2 separate regions of the Homo sapiens genome follow, and region 1 is linked to region 2. The links are contacts of gene promoters, found by promoter capture Hi-C in human tissues and cell types (Jung and others, 2019). All regions are on one chromosome and are shown on one strand. The core of a region is centred on a gene start or on the middle of the fragment in contact, and the rest is flanking DNA. Distances in the headings are between cores, read along the strand shown. Region 1 overlaps ARMCX5-GPRASP2 (ARMCX5-GPRASP2 readthrough). Region 2 holds the start of GPRASP1 (G protein-coupled receptor associated sorting protein 1).

Region 1 (3,471 bases), core at 873-3,372, 44 kb after region 2:
GGAGTGAGAAGTGTTAGGAATCCGTCTCTCCACGTAGACAACAATTGTACTGCTAGAAACTAGAAACTGTCTGACGTGACTGTTTTGGAAATCTTGATTCTACTTAAACTCTTTCAGCTTCCAAGGGGAAAACTTTGCTGGTAAATTGTAGTTATTATCAGTCCTTTTTAGCCATCAGTGCAATAGGAGCTACTCATACTCCAGCCTCCTTCCAAGCCCCATGTCAATGTAGGGACAGAAACCTGTGTCTCTGGCATGGCTTGTTGGAGCTACACTGCATAATAAGGGTATTGTCCTCCAAATATCAGCGGTTTGTATTCTGTTACAGATAGCTGCTTCTGATTACTGAGGTGCAGGTAAATAAACCTGGCAACTGTTGTTTTACCCCTCACCAGCTCAAGCAGCTTCCAGAGGATTTAAGGGAGCCTCATCATCATTTTTTTTTTTTTTGGACATTCAAAAACAACTGCATATACGGAGTAATTTAGAAAGGCACTGTGTATACCCAAGGAAAGATACGGTCCCAGAAAAGACCTGAGAAGACCTTAAGCTTCCACCCCATGCTGATTTCTGGCATAGAGACATGTTACAACAATTTTTTAAACCGCAGAAAACCTTAGGGAAGGGGATACACAATTTGACTTCCAGAGTTACCACATCATAAGATTCAAATGTGCACTCTTTAACAAAAGGCCACAAGGCATGAAAAGAAACACAAAAGTATAGCCTATTAAAAGAAACAAAATAATAAATAAACAAAAAAACATGCCTGAGGAAGCACAGATGCCAGACTTACTAGACAGAGATGTTAAAACTGTGATCTTAAATATGCTCAAAATGCTAAAGGAAGACATGAATAATGACAGTAAAATGGTGTATGTACAAAATGGCAGTATCAATAAAGATATAGAAATTATGAATAAAGAACGCAAAGGAAATTCTGGAGCTGAAAGGTACAGTAACTCAAAAGACATTCAATTAGTGCAAAAGCTGATTTCAGCAAGCGGAATAAAGATTCAGAGAACTAGAAGATAGAACCTTTTAAATTATTGAGTCTGAGGGACAGAAAGGGAAAAAAATGAAGAAAAGTGAACAGAGCCTAAGGGACCTGTGGGACGTGATCCAGCAGAACAACAGGCCAACTTACACATTATGGGAATATTAGGAAGAGAAGAGAGAGAGAAAGGGGTAGAGAGATCATTCAAAAAATAATAATGGCTAAAAACTTTCCAAATTTGATAAAACACTTGAATGTAAAAATCCAAGAAGCTCAATGAACTAGAAACAGGACAAAACAAAGTGACATATGCTAAAACACATTATAATCAGATTATTGAAAGACAAAGAGTGAATCTTAAAAGCAGAAAGAGAGCAGTGACTGATCATATATAAGTGATTGTCAATAAGACTGTCAGCCAATTTGGTATCAGAAACCTGGAGGCCAGAATGTGTTGGGTTTATATCATCAAAGTGCTTGGGGAAGAGTCAACGGAGAATTCTATGTCCACCAAAAAATATTTTTTAATGGGGATAAATTAAGACATTCTCAGATAAACAAAATCTGAGGGAGTTCATTTTCACTAGATATGCCAAGCAAGGAATTCTAAAGAGAGTCATGCAGATTTAAACAAAAAGAAACTAGACAATAACTCACAGCTGTATGAAGAGATAAAGATCTCTAGCAAATATAAATACGTAAGTAATGACAAAAGCCAGTACTGTTAGAATTTTGGATTGTAGCTCCACTTTTTTATTTTTTGTATGACCTGAAAGGCAAATGCATAAAAATCAATATTTAATGTATGTTTTGGACATGCAATGTATAAAGTTATAATTTGTGACAATAACAGAAAAGAGGATGGAGCTGACTAAAGAAGATAACAAAATCTCAACAGTGGAATGACATTAGCAAGATGGCAGACTAGGAAGCTTCAGGCCCCTCCCTCACAAAGACTCCAATTTAATAGCAGTATATCAACCAGAGTACCTATGTTAAACTCTAGAGAACAACTGAGAAGAGAGACCACCCAGGTCATGATTTTCCCCACCCCTTTTGCTGGAATCCTTTCTTGATTTTACATTGTCATCAGCAATGCATGAGGGTTCCAGTTTCTCTACATCCTCACCAACTCCAATTGGTTCAAAGATTTAAACACAGATCTTGAAATCATAAAAGTACTAAGACAATATATTAGAGTTTTTTTATATTTTATATATAAATTAATTATATATTTTACATTTTATTTTGTATATTTTATTATATATATTTATATAAATTTATATTTTTATATTTTTTATATTTTATATTTATAAATTAAATAAATTTATATTCTAGCATCCTATTAGGTGTGAAGTGGTATCTTATTGTGGTTTTTATTTATGTTTTATTAATAACTAATGCTTCTATCTAACCTATTTATATTCTAGATTAGATAGAAATAAACGGGACATAAAAAATTGATAAAGTTAACTGATAATGTTAACATGATTCATAATATCATAAACATTTGCAGATGAATTAATCTTGCATATAGAAAATCCTAGGAGATCCACTAAAACCTGTTTAATGAACAACTTCAGTAGAGTTGCATGATAAAATATCAATATGCAAAAACATATTGTATTTCTATACAGTAGTAATGATCAAACAAATAATGACATTTTTATAACTGCAAGCTCATCAAAATAATTTTTAAAACTAAGGAGTAAGTTTTACCAAAAAAGTGCAATATTTGTTCACTGAAAACTCTAAAAATTGTTGAAAGGAATTGAAGACCTAAATAAATGGAAAGACACCCCATGTTTATGGATTGTGAGACTTAATATTATTAAAATATTGATACCAGCTAAATTGATCTACAGACTCAGTGTAATCCTTACCAAATTCAGCTGCCTTTTCGTAGAAATTCAGAAGCTGCTCTCAAAATTTATATGCAAGTGATCCACAGTATCCAAAATAATCAATAAAAGAACAAAGTTGGAGGACTCACACTATTTGATTTCAGTGCTTACTATGAAACTACAGTAATCCAAACTATGTGGTACTGACATAACGGTAAACATAAATATGAATGAAAAAGTATTGAGAGTCCAGAAATAAATCCTCACATGTATTGAGTTTGACAAGAGCATGAGAGCCATACAACAGGGTAAGAATTGTCTTTTCAACAAATGGTGTTGGGATAATTGGACAGGCACCTGCAAAATAATGACTTTTAATCCCTGCCTCACACTGTATATAAAAATGAACTAGAAATTGTTCAAAAACCTAAATGTAAGAGCTAAATCTATAAAACCCTTAGAAGAAAACACATGGTATAAATCTTTGTGACTATGGACCTTTGTGACATTTGGTGACTCACATATGACACCAAAGCACAAAGAACAAAGGGAAAAATAGGCAAACTGTACGTCATCGAAATTAAAGACTTTTCTGCTTCAAAGGACATAAGTAAGTGAAAACCCACCCCA
Region 2 (3,349 bases), core at 225-2,724:
AACGATGACCAGTGTAGACTTTCTATGCTGCTTCAATCTGACATGGAGTCCCTGCCTTCCACATCTAAAGTACCCTTGCAATTACATTGGCCAAGATAACCCAGAATAATCTTAAATTAAACTCAGCTGAATAGCAATCTTAATGATCCTTTGTCAGGTAATATAAAATGGTACATGTTCTGGAGAACAGGACATGGACATCTTTAGGGGACCGTTACCTGCCAAACACAATGAGGGTAGTGTCTAAATGAGTTTTCAAATGGACAACAGTAACAACATCAACTTGGTGTTTAACCACATTGCTCTGTCTGTCCCATGCAGGAAGCAGGGAAAGGAGGGGCTCAAGAGTAGAGGACGGATGTGGGGGTGAAAGAAGAGGATTCAAATGAGCCAGGTTGCTTTGTCTCGGGGAGGGGGGTGCACGGTGGGATCCTCTCCTGAGAATGACTGCTGAAACAATAGGTAGTTGTGGCAGGTGGCGGAGATCCAAGCTGGTTTGATACCAGCCACATTTCCACACTGCCAAATATCATGGCAAGAGAAGACTTGACAGGGAACCGAAGAGAAGCCAGGACCATCCCTACCTGGCGGCATCAAAGAGAGAGGACTGTTATGACCTCCTGCGGGTCCTGACAGGGAAAGGTCCTCTTTTGGGGGCAACTGTGGGGACGGTGCAATGCCAACGTGAGCCACCATTTGAAATGAGAAACAGCGGTGTGGCAGAAAGAAATGAGTCTGGTGCAGACCAGTGGTTGGTTTCCTAGGGTTAGAGGTCTAGGTCTACCTTCTTTTAGAAGAGGGGCAGTGGTGAGTCCTTGATGGGAGCCCCCTGCCCCGGAGTTCACTTAAGAGCAGGTGTACCTTCCTCCCCTGCGTGGCTCCACGAAGCTGGGAAAGAAACGCACAGGACGACCACCCTAGAACCCCGGGCCTGTCTGGACTGAAATCGCCTCTCCCCTCCCACACTGCAGTGCTGACACCCCCTCTCCCATTAACATCCAGGAAGGAGGGTGAGCAGACTAGGGAGGGGGAGAGGGCAAACACCCAGCAGTCCTTATAGGGGGGCGGTTGGGGCGGGGGTGCAGACACACCAAGGGACGGTTTGGTATCCATCCGCTGCTCCCTCCAGCGCGGCTCTTCGCGACCTCGCGATCCTGTCCTCCGCCCGGCCCCGCAGCCGCCCGCCGGTGCCATATATTATAGCAGCGCCAGAAATGTGGTGGTCGTCGCCACGTTAGGGTCCGCGGGGTCCTCCTGAGGCAGCCTGGTGCCAACCCGCAGGCCCCGGCTGGGGCTCGTCCTGGCCCCGCCCACCTCTGGGTCGGAACTATGGTGGTTCTGTGAGGGGGGGCGTCCTGCACTTTCGCGCCGTATCCCTCCGCCCCCCTTCCCGACACCCTCGCGGAGAGCGGTTCTTGCCGCATCCTGCGCAGCCCCTGCCCAGTTTGGTGCAGAGGCGTGGGGGGCGGGACTCGTCTTTGCCATTCGGATCGCTGGGAAAGCGGTGGGAATCCAACTGAAGAGCAGCCAGAGGAGAGCTGAAGAGAGGAGGGGGAGGCCGATGACCTGGGCTCTGGGCCTCTGAAGGCAAGTAGGGGTGCGTGAGGTGGGGGGCCGTGGTGTGGGGGTGGTCCGCCAGGGTGGACCGGCTGGCAACCTGCCCCCCGGACCCTGACAGCCTGGCAACGAGGAGACGATCCGTTCGGAGCCGGGCGCTAGAGAGAGGTGCGCAGTGCCCGAGATCCCTGGCTATGGGGAGGCGGTGACTGGTGCGGGCCAGGCCGGACCAAGGGCTGAGGGGCTGGCTCCAGAGGCACCGTCAGATCGTCTGGAGGAGAACCGCGCTGACCGCTTCCCAGCCAGCTTTGCAGGCGCCCGCGCGCAGCCCTCGACGGTTTCGGTACCGAGAGACGGCTGTGGGGGAGGCTCCTGCGGGAGAAATGGCCAAACGGGAGCCGTGTTGGGGGGCGCCCGGGAGGCAGTTGGGGGGCGCCTGGGGGGGCCCTCGTGGGCCAGCGTCCCAGCTCTGTGCCTAGCCCGTGGGAGGTGGGTCGCGTTCGCTGCTCCGGGCCCTGATTCCGGAAAGGGGCCTGTGGGGCCCCGTGTCCTGGGTGCTGTCCCTTCCCACAGACTCCAGGTTGATGTCAAAGTCTGTCTGCGCGGTAGGTCTGGCGTATTCTGACAGGACACAGTGAGCATCTGTAGAGGAGAGGCTTGAAATAAAGGAGGAGCACGAATATTCCCTGGATTTCTGGAGGTGTGTGGGGATGTGGGGTGGGTGCCAAACACTGGAGAACCGAATCGGGGTGGGGGACTGCGACCAGAGCAGGTCAGGCATCCAGGAGCACCTCTTAATCTTCCCCTCTCTAATGGTGTTCCAGGCGCTTCCCCCACCTTCCATCCCCATCTGCCTCCCCCACCGTCCTAAACTGGGGGCTTGAAAGGGTGAGCTTTGGAGGTAGGGGTGATGAGGGAGACATACTGACAAGTACCAATTCACGACCTGTTTTCTAGAATATGTGGCGCCCTTCCCCCATTTTCTGCTGCGCAGAGCAAGGGGATGTGGCGCACCTAGTGGTGAATCCTCAGAATTGGAGAAGGGAGTAATGAGAAGAGTATGACGTCAAGAGAAGGAGTTGTTATCTCTAGAACCTTGAAGCAGGGCCTAAACAAAACGAGAATATTCCACCAGCAAAACCCCGAATGTTGAAAGACAGATATCAATAATATGGGGATTCTTATCCTTAGCGTTGGTCTCTCTACCAAGGGCTTTACTGCCACCCCTCATTTCCTGTCTTACTTTTTCATCTGTTTGTCCATAGGCCTGCTTTAAGGCTGGCCAGTTCTGCAAGAAAGGCAAGGAGGAGGAGACTGGCTCACACCTCTGGAGGTTGGTGAGAAGGGGGAGGGGGCAATTCAGGGGACAGTTGGAGAAAGAGAGCATGGCAGGTGGCTTTGAGACCAGTGGGTGCAGACCCACTTCTACTCTGCTGGATTTGCACAGTGCCAGCATCCTTTTTATTTCTTGCAGGGGACATGAGATAGGTGTAGGTTGTGTTGTGACTCAGAAAGACCTGAGAGCAGGGACCAGGACACAGGAAACCATAGATACATTGAACCCTTGAATGGGAAGACAGATATTTGTCACAGGAGCCAGAGTGCTTGCCTATCTACCATTCTCCATTCTCTCCTGTATGTTTACTTGTCTGTAGGACCCCCTTCTGTCAGCTGTGGGGCTTGACACTACTTGAACAAGAAAAGGAGGGGGAAACTGCACCACATAAGTGAAGGTTGGTATGAGAGTGGGTATACTTTTGGGCGGGGTAGTGGAGACCAGCATGGGTCCGGG

Evidence for each region. The method cuts DNA at HindIII sites, captures the fragments that hold promoters and counts their contacts. A contact is called where the count stands out against the background at its distance.
Region 1: a contact is called between a fragment that was not itself captured here and the fragment with the promoter of GPRASP1 in region 2, in 1 of the 25 tissues and cell types used here (aorta).

The regions. Positions count from the first base shown.
Region 1 is chrX:102,693,833-102,697,303 of GRCh38, forward strand. The region is part of intron 4 of ARMCX5-GPRASP2 (ARMCX5-GPRASP2 readthrough); the gene reads left to right. Among named protein-coding and RNA genes, the nearest start is that of GPRASP2, 17 kb to the right of the region's middle. The HindIII fragment of the contact is 7,384 bases long and covers 1-3,471 here.
Region 2 is chrX:102,650,009-102,653,357 of GRCh38, forward strand. GPRASP1 (G protein-coupled receptor associated sorting protein 1) reads left to right here and starts at 1,475. Exons shown (of 6, transcript NM_001184727.2): 1 at 1,475-1,587; 2 at 1,679-1,725; 3 at 2,167-2,257; 4 at 2,823-2,890; 5 at 3,213-3,290. The region is part of intron 4 of ARMCX5-GPRASP2 (ARMCX5-GPRASP2 readthrough); the gene reads left to right. The HindIII fragment of the contact is 5,623 bases long and covers 1-3,349 here.